Linked DNA regions of Homo sapiens: all the other regions are linked to region 1. The links are contacts of gene promoters, found by promoter capture Hi-C in blood cells and fetal thymus (Javierre and others, 2016). All regions are on one chromosome and are shown on one strand. The core of a region is centred on a gene start or on the middle of the fragment in contact, and the rest is flanking DNA. Distances in the headings are between cores, read along the strand shown.

Region 1 (3,927 bases), core at 1,061-3,560:
TATTGTGCTCACTTTTTTTTTAGAGGAATGCTTTGTCCTTTACAAAATGGACAAATACTCCCACTGTACTGCAGTTCCAGTTCTATAATCATTTTGGAGGCGCTCTTTACCCCGTGGTGACCACAACACGAAGAACCGTCCTTACCCACATGCTGCTTGCCTGGGGAGCTCAGGATCAGTGTCTTACACACAGAAGGATATATGCTCCCATTTTTTTTCCGCCGACTGTAAATGACTCCTATTCTTTGCTCCACAGAACATCCGATGTGGTGCCCAATCAGCTGAAAAAGCTGCACAGACGTCATTAGTTCCGTGTGTGTGTGTGTGTGTGTGTGTGCAAGAGAGAGAGAGAAAGAGAGAGAGGAGACTGCAGCTGCCTTGCCGCGTGCCGAGTGGAGTCTCCATTAGGGCAGCGCTATTGATTTCTGATTCACACTGCAGCAACAGGGCTAGAGCTCAGAAGAAAAAAAAATCACGTCTCAGAAACAGGAATTACAAAGACAAAAATAAGTAGATAGATAGTTTTATACAAAAATCAAGCATCTGTTACCAAAGGAAAGCAAAACTGACAATTTAGCAAAATTTAAAGACTGTTTATAACATAGAATAAGATGTATAGGAGAAGTAGAGTAAAATGAGTTTAGAAAAATTATTCGTTCTAATTTTTCAACCATTTTTTTGAGAGGTGATAATGGTCTAATTTCCAGAATGCCTTGAAAAACCCTGGAATACTCGGCAGAGGTGCTGCAAAGTAAAGCTTATTTGAGGGCAATCTTGAAGCTATGCCTGAGAATTTTAAACAACAAAATATCCAAGATTTATTTTTTCAATTGTGTTCGATTATTTTATTAGCTAGTAGCTTTCTCTGTTTTAATTCTCTGTGTTGCATAATATCTAGGATACAGTAACAGGCTGGTTGCAAATGCTCGAAACAGAAATAGGTTTCTTCATAGGCTGTGTTTCAGCATGTCCAACTGTGAGCCTGTGAAGCAGAGCATCGGAGTTCTCTCGAGGTCTGTTGCTTCAGATTTGGTTAGAAATTATTGAATCTGGAGTGTAAAAATCTTGTCTGGGCCTTTTAGGCAGCTTGATTTTAAAACTAGCCCTTCTGCCCCAAGACTTATCAACCGCCCCCCCACCCTGTCCCAAAAGAAAAGCTGAAGTAAGTTCAGTGTTAAAATAATGGTGCTGTCAGGCAGGCAGTCTGCATGTGAGCAGCAGAAAATTAGAAGAATAGAACCATCCATTCTCGTTTCCCCCCGCGACATGCACGCACACATACGTGCACACACACACACACACCACACACACACACACAGACAACACCAGTCAGTGAAGGGGGAAAAGGGTGATACCTTTTTAAAAAATGAAAGGCAGTAAGCCATTATTAGCAAGAGCTATATTGAGCATGCTTGCCAGACAAGCAGCAAAGCTGAGCTCCAGTTCCGCCCAGACATGTGCCTTGCCATTTTCATTTTAATCAGCCTGCTCAGGATGGCTGCTGATTCATTTTGCAGGATGTCCCCCTGGGAGCCAAGGTGGAAGCCTGAGGCGAGCTGCTATTGCATCAATGCAGCACATCAGAGCGAGAGCGCGGAGGCAGAGGGAGGAGAGAAAGCCTTCAGCACCGCATCCCGATTTCAATATGGCTAGTTAGAAGGTCCTGCATGAAACCGAGTCTATTGCAGAAAACATAATGAAAGGAAAGGAAAAGAAAAAAGTCACATTGTCATTTCATTATCCAACTATTCTCTCCCCCAACCCCTTCTTGCCACCAACAGACACACACACGTACACATTTTACAGTGACCATGAAAGATTTCAAGCCACTCTGTGGAAGTGTGTGTGTGTGTGTGTGTGTGTGTGTGTGTGTGTACTATTTACCTGGTAACTAGCTGGGGTGGTATACCTGATTTAGCTGGAGACTTTGATTTGTAGGACTGACAACCTTATTATGCAGTGAGTTTATTATTGATATTATTCTGCTCTCGGTTGCCATGGCCACCTTGTGAGAGACATTCAATTTTCTCTCTTCCATCATCATTATCTATGAGGCCATCTGTTGTGGAAAATGAATTCAGCCTCATTTGCATGACTGATAAGCAATTTTTTTTTTTATCTATTTAACAGAAGGTCATATGCCGGGGATTTGGAGCTTGTGAAAAAAAAATGTGGAAAAAAAAAAAAGCCTAGGAGAGGATGAGTGGGAGCGTGTGCATGGGGGTGTGTGGAAGTCAAACAGATCCCTGAGGCCTGCGAGCCTATCGCGCTGCATTTGTCATTCCTGCCCGGGCGACATTTTTTTTTTCCCTAAGCTACTGCACACTAAACAGTGAGAGAGCTTTTCCCTGCAGTCTTGTTGAAGCACCCCGGGTTTTTTGCTCATTGTTGGTGGGTGCATTTTAATTTTTTCATTCCCTGGACTATGGGTTATGATATCCATACTCACTGAAGACAAAAAGCCACCTTTTCTGCGTCTTGGTGGCATGCATGTGTCTCATCATCCTTTCAAACTTGTGGTGGAACAGGGTTTTCTTCCCTGTCTGTGTATTTTGAGCCAGCACAGTTACCAAAATTGAACTTGTCTTTCGCTTGTGAGCGGTTGTGGTCATTGTGAGGTACGTGATGTTCGTTAGGTTAATTTTTCGGGGAACTTAGTGAGCAGGATGTGTTTTACCGTAGCTCAAGGGCTGAGGCTGCTATTCCATTGTCTGCTCCTTTTTAAAGTTATTTTTACAGCATGGCTGGTAGCTGAAATGTTCCTGGACTGGAGGCTTTGTAATCCACAAAAAAATCTGTCTTTAAACTAAAATGGGTATTAGGTTGCATGACTTAACTGTGATGTTGTTTATTAAGAAAAAAAGAAACAAAAACAAAACGGGGTGCATGTATGGTGTTTGGAGGATAAGAGGATACTGAAACAAAAACTTCCCAGAGACTTTACTGGATTACTTTACATTACAAATGAAGCACATCATTTTATGCAAAGGCAATTAAAATGTTAGCTATTTTGGATGAATTTACCTGATGGTAAGAAGAAAGTTGATTTATATTGTTTAAGTGGAGAAACTCAAATAAAGATTTTTAAATTTAACTTAAATGTTTGAAGTTCATAATAATGAAAGAAAATGTTATTTATAACAGAAATATGTCTTTTTGTAACACCTAAATTAATAAACTAAAAGATTAAACTCTACACTTTAGTTTTAAGATAGATCTGAATAAAGCAAAAATATATATGTAAATATTTATATGAAAGTTAGCTATATAAAATATAGAGAACAGATTTTGAATTTAGTATTAACCATGACAATTTCTTGTACCATCAAAGCTATATAAGCTAAATAATTTCTAAGTTACTTAGAGTAAAACTATTTTATATAAGAGCCTTTTTGTTCAAATGTTTATATTTTCTACTAAACAAAATTAACGTCATAGACCAAAGCATCCCAAAACCACCCTTACTGGCATATGAGGGTCTTTCTAATTGTTCATCTTCATTTAGTGTCATGTAGCTTTAAAAATAATAAAGTCATGTCTCCCATACAGATAAAAATGTAATTATTTTTAAAAGAAAAGAGTTTTATAAAATATTCCTTTTCAAAAAAAAAAACAGCATTGCATTCCTATAAGTTTTCACCTCTCAAGAACTTTGAATCCAAAGTGTTGATTGTAAGTTATAAATGCTACTAAGAGAAACATTCCAGAAAAAAAGGAAGTTTGTTTTTTCTGATTGACCTAAAAGAACATGTATGATTCTATCACCTCAAATGCAGTAAGTTAATTGCTTAAAAGTCTCCTTAAAGTTATACTTGAGTGATAAATTTTCTTTATTAACTAACATAGACCACTACTGATGTGTGTGTGTGATGGTACTTTACTTGATTGCACTTTGAAAACTCTTACCATACTATCATACACTTTTCA
Region 2 (3,927 bases), core at 518-3,017, 640 kb before region 1:
AATTTTTGCATTCTATCTTATCATTTCTTCAAGTGTAGGTTTCCCATAGTAAGTACATCCACAAAAATATTTGGAGGCTCTAAAATTATTTGGAGAGAAATAACTTAAAAGAATGTTAACTTTGGCCATAATAGACTAGCAATGAAGCTTATTTTTTGCTGGAAATCATCAAAGGCCATGAATGAAATTTTACTTGTTAATTTGTAAAAAAATACCTAATTTAGGCTAACATACTTTTTAAGGACATAAGATTTAAGCATATTATTTCTAAATCTAAAGCATATAACAACCTAGAAGTATAGCTGTTATCTTACTGGTTAGGGAAGGGCCCAGCTGTGAGTGATAGCCAGTGACAGTGGTGTAATGAAGTGAGGTGGCTTTTCTCATGGAGCAGCAGGTCAAAGGTGAGTAATATGGGGTAGTGCAGCTGCTGTGCAATGCCTTCCTGGATTTTGGGTTTCCTGTCTTGATGGTTCTTTATCCTCATGCTTGTCACCTCATGGTCTCAACATGGCTGCTGCAACCTCAGCCATCTTGTCTGCATTCCAGGAAGAAATTGGAGGGCAGGGCCTAGGGACCAAGGGGCCTTCCAGCAGATGCTTCTTCCTCTTAGAAAAGCAAAAGCCCCAGTCAGTCAGCTTCTTGTCTTGTTGCTCTGTCCAGAGTGGTGCCTTGAAGGCTTCTTCCCAGCTTCTTATTCCTAGCTGGAAAGGTGGCTTCGAATTTCTTTCTTTTCTATGATGTTTCTAAAGTCTCCATTGTGTTTGCTGGGATAAGATAGTTGACCTAATTTTGGGGACTTCTAAATAAAGTTTTCTCTAGACAAAGAGGTAATAACTGAGAAGGATTCTCTTAAAAAAAAGAATAGCAATTTAGTGAATTACAGAACATAGCTGGAAAAATAATAATGTCCAAACATGAAGTAGTCTGTGATCTTTACCTGTAGTTTTAATGTCGAGGACTTGTGGTTCTGCTATCTCCAGGAGACTTTTTTGTCTATATCTTCACTTCTCAGTGCCATTTCCCCTGCTGTAACTTTGGTGAAGCTGCTTATGTCAGAAGACATGTGGGGAAAAGGAATGCATGGATTGGTTTGTTTTTTGTAATTGGCTGTTAACAGCCTGAGGTGACAAGGGGAGGGATGAAGCTCTGCAGAGCCATGTGCATGCCCATGAGCCCGGCACATGTGCTGCACTGGTTTCTCTGATGGTCTCAATTCTCCACTCCAGCCCGTGCACATGCTTTTGTTAATGTTACTCGCATCTTTTTCTATCAAAAGATGGAAACTATTTCTCCACCCCTGGAATTCTGGGCTGGCCTTAAGACTTGCTTCGATCAATAGCAATGATGAAAATGACAGTATTCCCATTCTGGATTTTGGTCTCAGGAAGCCTTTCATGCCTCTGCCTTGACCATGAGAACAAGTCCAGGCCAGCATGCTGGAGGAAGAGAGACCACACGGAGCAGAGCCCAGGCCATCCTTGGCCAGTCAACACCATCTAACCCCAAATGTGTGATGTGTGAGGGACCCTGGCCAGGACCAGCAGAACCACTCAACTGACCCACAGACTGAGGAACAGTAATGATGGTTGTTGTTTCGAGGCACTGTGTTTTGGGATGGTTTGTTAGGCAATGTTCTTTTGGCAATAGTTAACTAATACTGCATGTTTTGAGGTATTTTATATTCATTTTTACATTTAATCTTAATAACAGGCCATCATGTTACTGATACTATATCTGTCTTAGAGACAAGCAATCTGAGTTTCACAGAGATGAAATAATTCCCCAAATCACAGAGCTAGAAAGTGGTACATCTTTTCATTGACACAAGATTTGTCTTATTTCAAAACCCATTCCCTCTGCCCAGCCTCTCTGAATCTGAGGAGCACTTGTGAACAGGGGCCTTAGTTCCACATGAAGAGCAGAGTGAAGAGGTGCAGGCAAGGGTTCAGCGTGGTCACAGTACTCTAGTGCTGCGTAGAAACCAACTTCATAATCTCAGTAATGGTCTATCAATCAAAACCACAACGCAATACCACCTTACTGTTGCAAGAATGGCCATAATTAAAAAAAATTAAAAAATAATAAATATTGGCTGGGGTATGGCGAACAGGGAATACTTCTACACTGCTGGTGGGAATGTAAACTACTACAACCACTATGGAAAACAGTGTGGAGGTTCCTTACAGAACTAAAAGTAGAACTACCATTTGATCCTGCAATCCCACTACTGGGTATCTACCCAGGGGAAAATAAGTCATTATACGAAAAAGATACTTCCACACACGTTTATAGCAGCACAATTCACAATTGCAAAAATATGGAACCAGCCCAAATACCTGTCAATCAATGAGTGGATAAGAAAATGTTATATGTACACACACACACACACACACACACACACACACACCACTGAATACTATTCAGCCATAAAAAAGAATGAAATAATGGCATTTGCAGCAACCTGGATGGAATTGGATACCATTATTCTAAGTGAAGTAACTCAGGAATGGAAAACCAAACATCATATATTCTCACTCATAAGTGTGGGAGCTAAGCTATGAGGATGCAAAGGCATAAGAGTGACACAATGGACTGTGGGGACTTGGAGGAAAGGGTGGGAGCAGGTTGAGGGATAAAAGACTGCATATTGGGTGCAGTGTACACTGCTCGGGTGATAGGCGCACCAAAATCTCACAAATCACCACTAAAGAAGTTACTCATGTAACCAAACACCACCTGTTCCCCAAAAACCTATGGAAATAAAAATACAATACAGTTTAAAAAACCCAAAACCAAAATTAATGTATTGTACACAAAAATTTAAGAGAGAAAACCTCATGTTAAGTGTTCTTACCACAATAAAAGAAAATAAAAGAAAAACAAAACAAAAAAGAAAAGAACTTCAGGTTCCTCTGTGGCTGGGCAGACATTTTCTTCCTCTACTGTCTCTCCAATTTCCCCATGTGTTGTACCTCTTGGGTTATTTTATGCTAGAAGGAGTTGACAGTGAGATGCAAGAGTCTTCTGATTTTTTTTTAAATTGACAAATAATTGTATATATTTATGGGGCAAAATGTGATTTCTTGATATATGTATAAATTGTGGAATAATTAAATCAAGCTAGCTAACTTATCCTCACCTTACTTATCATTTTTTTTAGTGGTGAGAACATTTAAAATCTAATCTTTTAGCAATTTTGAAATTTATACTACATTATTTTTAACTGTAGTCACCATGCTGTGCAATAGATCACTAAAACTTATTCCTCCTGTCTAACTAAAACATTGTTTTGACCCCTAACTTCTCACTTCCATATCTTCCCACCTCCCTGCTACCCCATCCTGTGGTAACCATCTGCTCTCTGCTTTCAAGAGTTAAGCTTTCTTAGATTCCAGATGTAAGTGAAAGCATGAAGTCTTTGTCCTTCTGTGCCTGGCGTATTTCACTTATAGCAATGTCCTCCAAATTTACCCATATTGCCACAAATGTCGGGATTTTCTTCTTTTCTTTTTTAAGACGGAAGAGTATGACATTGTATATCTATACCACATTTTCTTTATTCATTTATTCATTGGTGGACACCTGGGTTGATTCCATATCTTGGATATTGTGGATAATGCTGTAGGCAACATGAGAGAGTGCAGGTATCTCTTTGATATAGTGATTTCAATTCCTTTCGATATAAAACAAGTAGTGAGATTGCCAAATCATATGGTAGCTTTATTTTTATTTATTTTTGTTGTTGTTGTTGATACGGAGTCTCACTCTGTTGGTCTCACTCTGTTTCCCAGGCTAGAGTGCAGTGGTGCGATCTCGGTTCACTGCAACCTCTGCCTCCCTGGTTCAAGTGATTTTCCTGCCTCAGCCTCCCAAGTAGCTGGGATTACAGGCACGTACTACCACGCCTGGCTAATTTTTGTATTT
Region 3 (3,927 bases), core at 627-3,126, 610 kb before region 1:
GCCCACCAAAAGCAAGTGTTTGAGTTTCATCGCTCCCCTACAGCTGTTTCCTTAGGATCTGGGTTCGCTGGTTTCACTCTGACTTCAGCTCTCTATTGGATTCAAGTAAAGATATTATTCTATGGATTATATGTCTTTTTTTGTATTGTAGTAAAGGTGGGCATGATGTTATCTAGCTTTCTATATTTTAAGTGGAAGCCAGAATCTGCATTTTTTTTTTTTTTTTTGAGATGGAGTCTCGCTCTGTTGCCCAGGCTGGAGTGCAATGGAGCAGTCTCAGCTCACTGCAACCTTTGCCTCCTGGATTCAAGCAATTCTCCTTTCTCAGCCTCCCAAGTATCTGGGATTACAGGCATGTGCCAACAAGCCTGGCTAATTTTTGTATTGTTAGTAGAGATAAGGTTTCACCACGTTGGCCTGTCTGGTCTCGAACTCCTGACCTCCGGTGATCCGTCCTCCTTGACCTCCCAAAGTGCTGGGATTACGGGCATGAGCCACCGCGTCCAGCCTGCCTTTATATTTTTAATTATTAGTAGCTCTTTTAGTTCTCTCAATATTTTCTTTCTGAGCATCCTGTTCTTGCAATATGGGTGCAGTATCTTCTCTCATAGGTGACTATTAATGATAATGTCTCCTTCTTAAGTTTCTTTTTTCCATTATAGTCTCTGCTTCCTACAGGTTGCTTTTGCTCCCGTTGGATTGTTCTGGTCACTGGCTTCCTCGTTAGGAGCACTTCTCTGAGGTCTAGAATTCCTTGACCATCAGCTCATGATTAAGAGTGACAGGTCAGCAATCAGTTTGGCAGTTCTGAAAGCTTGAGCAGAGTTGGTCAACCGTGGGCTTCCCTGCAGAGCCTCTGCAGCTTCTTGGTTCTTTCCTTTTTGGTGACTCAGAGTCCCAAGAGGAGGTCCTTCCAGTCTCCCATATGGAGATATATGTCTGGCTGCCTGCTGGAGGCTGAGTATCTGGTTCCAGAGTATTTCATTTCAGTTTTAAAAGGACTTTACGAATGTCTTTCTGGAATACTATTCCTCTTTCTTTGTTTATTACTCCTTTCCCAAATCTAGGAAAAGTTGTGCCTATTTAGAGTGCCTAAATAGACTTGAACATTTAATTAAACTCTGCAGGGTGGCCTTGTTCCTACTTTCCTATCAACTTCCTAGGAGTGTAAGCATTGGACTTTCAAGCCCAGAGCAAAGGACTTTCATGTGCTTCTCCCTTTCAGCCCTGAGACTGGGTGCAGGCTCACAGATCCTCCATGTTTATGAAGAGAAAAAAGTTATGAAGAGGCTGATTAGCCAAAGCCTCAGCCCTGGGCTCCTGGTGAGTGCTGGACAGAACCTTGCTTTGCTTCTGCATCTATGTTTGTGCCACGTCGCTCAGGATCTTAGACTTTCTTCCGGAGACCAGGAGCTCATCTGCACCCACAACGAGTGATGGCAAATGGTCAGAGGAAAAAGGGAGCCAGAACTAGGAAGACTTAGGAGGTGGCCCCACAGCAGGGAGGAGGGCACATTTCTCCTCCTCATCAACAACTGCAAGCCCCTGGGGCTTGGCATCTTGCCAAGCTGTTGCACATCATTTTGTGAATCCTCCCAATGGCCTGCGAGCCAGGAACAATGAATTTTATGAACCCCTCCCCCCTACTTAAAAGTTGGGTACATTGAGACTCAAGAGGAAAGGACTTTCCTAAGGAAGAGTACTTCCATGTGCACAGCAGACAGCTGATGTCTCAGAGGCTTGACGCTGCAGCCGTTGGTGGGCGCTAGCCTGAATTAATGAAGTGGGGCTTCACCAACACCTGGGTATGTGCGGAAACTTGGGATGGGCTCGTGTACACTTAACGAAGAGAAATCCTTGCACCTGGTTTAAGAAGTGGAGAAGCTGAGGTAATGGGTGCATGGCTGGCTGGCCTGGAAGTACAGGGCTCTCAGGTACCTGTGGGCGGTCCCCACCCTTGGCCGTAAACAGGTGGCTTATGGCCTCTGCAGTGCTGTCTGTGCAACTGAGTTCTTCATCATGAAGGTTACAGATGAGCTTGTTCTCCACTCCGCATTAACATAAATTCTGAATTAGTAATGCTGAAATAAATTCTCATTGTGAAATACGTGAGAGGGAGGTGGCTGGGCAGGCAGTTGGGAAAGCAGGGCGACTTTGGACAGGAGCACCCCTTGGCTTCATTCCCTCTGTGACCCCCAGCCTCCTGCCAGCCAGGTTCTAGCTGAGGTTTGCCTGCTTTTCCTAGTGTGGCCCGTAAGTATCTCCAGGCACACACAGCAGACTTTCCTTGTTGCCCGTGATTGGCTTCTTCATTTGAGTTTCTTTAAAAAGCAAACCTGGGTAGGAGCCCCTTAGCATTCCAGCGGGCTGCCTGGGCTGATGTGCTAGAGGATGCGGGGCCGCTCATGCGCCCAGAGCTTGAGAAATCACCAGACAGGGCCAGGCTCCTGGTGTCGGCTGTCAGCAGCGCCGGCAGGATAATAAATCAACCTGTCTCATGTCAGGGGTCAGCTCGTTTGATGTTTAAAGCATTTGGGCCAATCTAATCAGGCCGAGCATAGCCCATCCGAGCATGAGCCGCTGCCGCCATGACGAGGCTGAGCTTGCTCTGAGCTGATGTTCCCTGACCTGACAGCTTTGGGGCCTTGGGACCAGGCAGGTGCAAAGTACAGAGTCTGGAGTTGAGGGACAGGAGCCTCCTGCTAGCGTGTGTTAGCCGGGAGAAAACCTTGTATTTGGCAATGGCGGGGGCCAGTTACCAGCTGTTTAGCGTGAGGGAGACTTGGCTTTCATTTGGTTCATTTGGTAACCCTCTTAGTGCACTGAGGAGCAGGGCCGGCTCTGCAATTTGCGGGGCCCCGTGCACAATGAAATTGTGGGGCCCCTTGTTCAAAAAGTGAGAGTGAAGTACCTTTGACGGCGGTGAAAGGTAAGCTTTTTCCTTTCTTCCACGGTCTTGCTCTTCACAAGGCAGGTTTTTATTGGATAATTACTGCAGTTCTAAATAAAAAAACAAAAATTTGAATAATCAGCATAAATTTTACCTTTCGTCTTCATACTGTGCAAAGTTAGTTTTAAATGTAAATATGAGGATTTAACTTGCACAAAGAATCATATAGTGACACAATTTGTATTTCATGGCTTGTCTCCCGTGGCTGCCATGGAGAGATCAATCCGCAGTGAGCCAGGGAGGTTGAAGGAGGGAGGGTCTCCCAGGCACAGAGCCAGTGAGGAGCGCTGTCCAGGCACCGGCATCCTTGTGAACCCTGACAAGTGCCCAAGGCCCTCTCGAGCCCTGTGTCCTGGCAGGGGACAGGCTCTGGGGACCTCTCAACCCCTGTGTCCTGGCAGGGACAGGCTCTGGGGACCTCTCAACCCCTGTGTCCTGGCAGGGGACAGGCTCTGGGGACCTCTCAACCCCTATGTCCTGGTAGGGGACAGGCTCTGGGGACCCCTTAACCCCTGTGTCCTGGCAGGGGCAGGCTCTGGGGACCTCTCGACCCCTGTGTTCTGGCAGGGGACAGGCTCAGGGGAATTTGAGCCAAACATTTCCCCTCCACAGCCCACAGCCCCAACCAGAGCATACAGGTGGCCCTGGGATCTTTACACCTTGGTGGGGAAACAGGCTCAGGACGTGGGTCAGGAGTGACAGTAGGCGTCACCCCACCCAACGCCGCCCGCCCAGGCTGGGATGTGGGCCCTCCATGCTAAGGCCCCCGGGCAGAGGTTCCCCAAAGCTTGGATGACAGCAGGTGGTAGAGCAGGGCAGGGCAGCCAGGTGGGGATGGCTGGGGCTTTGGAGCTGGTGGTCCAGACCTCACCCCAGGGAGGCGTGTGGTGGGATCTCGGGTGGCCGAGCCTCCATTGTCTTGTTGATTTCTCTCGCGGAACACAAGTGCAGAGACAACCTCAATAAACATTTGCGAC

The links. Contacts are between HindIII fragments. The CHiCAGO score rates a contact against its expected background, and 5 or more counts as called.
Region 2: a fragment that was not itself captured here is called in contact with the fragment with the promoter of MYT1L in region 1 in 1 of 17 cell types (M2 macrophages); the score reaches 5.1 in M2 macrophages.
Region 3: a fragment that was not itself captured here is called in contact with the fragment with the promoter of MYT1L in region 1 in 1 of 17 cell types (M2 macrophages); the score reaches 5.1 in M2 macrophages.

Annotation. Positions count from the first base shown.
Region 1 is chr2:2,329,658-2,333,584 of GRCh38, reverse strand. It overlaps MYT1L (myelin transcription factor 1 like), which reads left to right and starts at 2,310. Exons shown (of 25, transcript NM_001303052.2): 1 at 2,310-2,618. The HindIII fragment of the contact is 6,340 bases long and covers 760-3,927 here.
Region 2 is chr2:2,968,414-2,972,340 of GRCh38, reverse strand. The region is part of intron 3 of LINC01250 (long intergenic non-protein coding RNA 1250); the gene reads left to right. Among named protein-coding and RNA genes, the nearest start is that of LINC01250, 160 kb to the left of the region's middle. The HindIII fragment of the contact is 3,235 bases long and covers 150-3,384 here.
Region 3 is chr2:2,940,010-2,943,936 of GRCh38, reverse strand. The region is part of intron 5 of LINC01250 (long intergenic non-protein coding RNA 1250); the gene reads left to right. Among named protein-coding and RNA genes, the nearest start is that of LINC01250, 180 kb to the left of the region's middle. The HindIII fragment of the contact is 2,120 bases long and covers 817-2,936 here.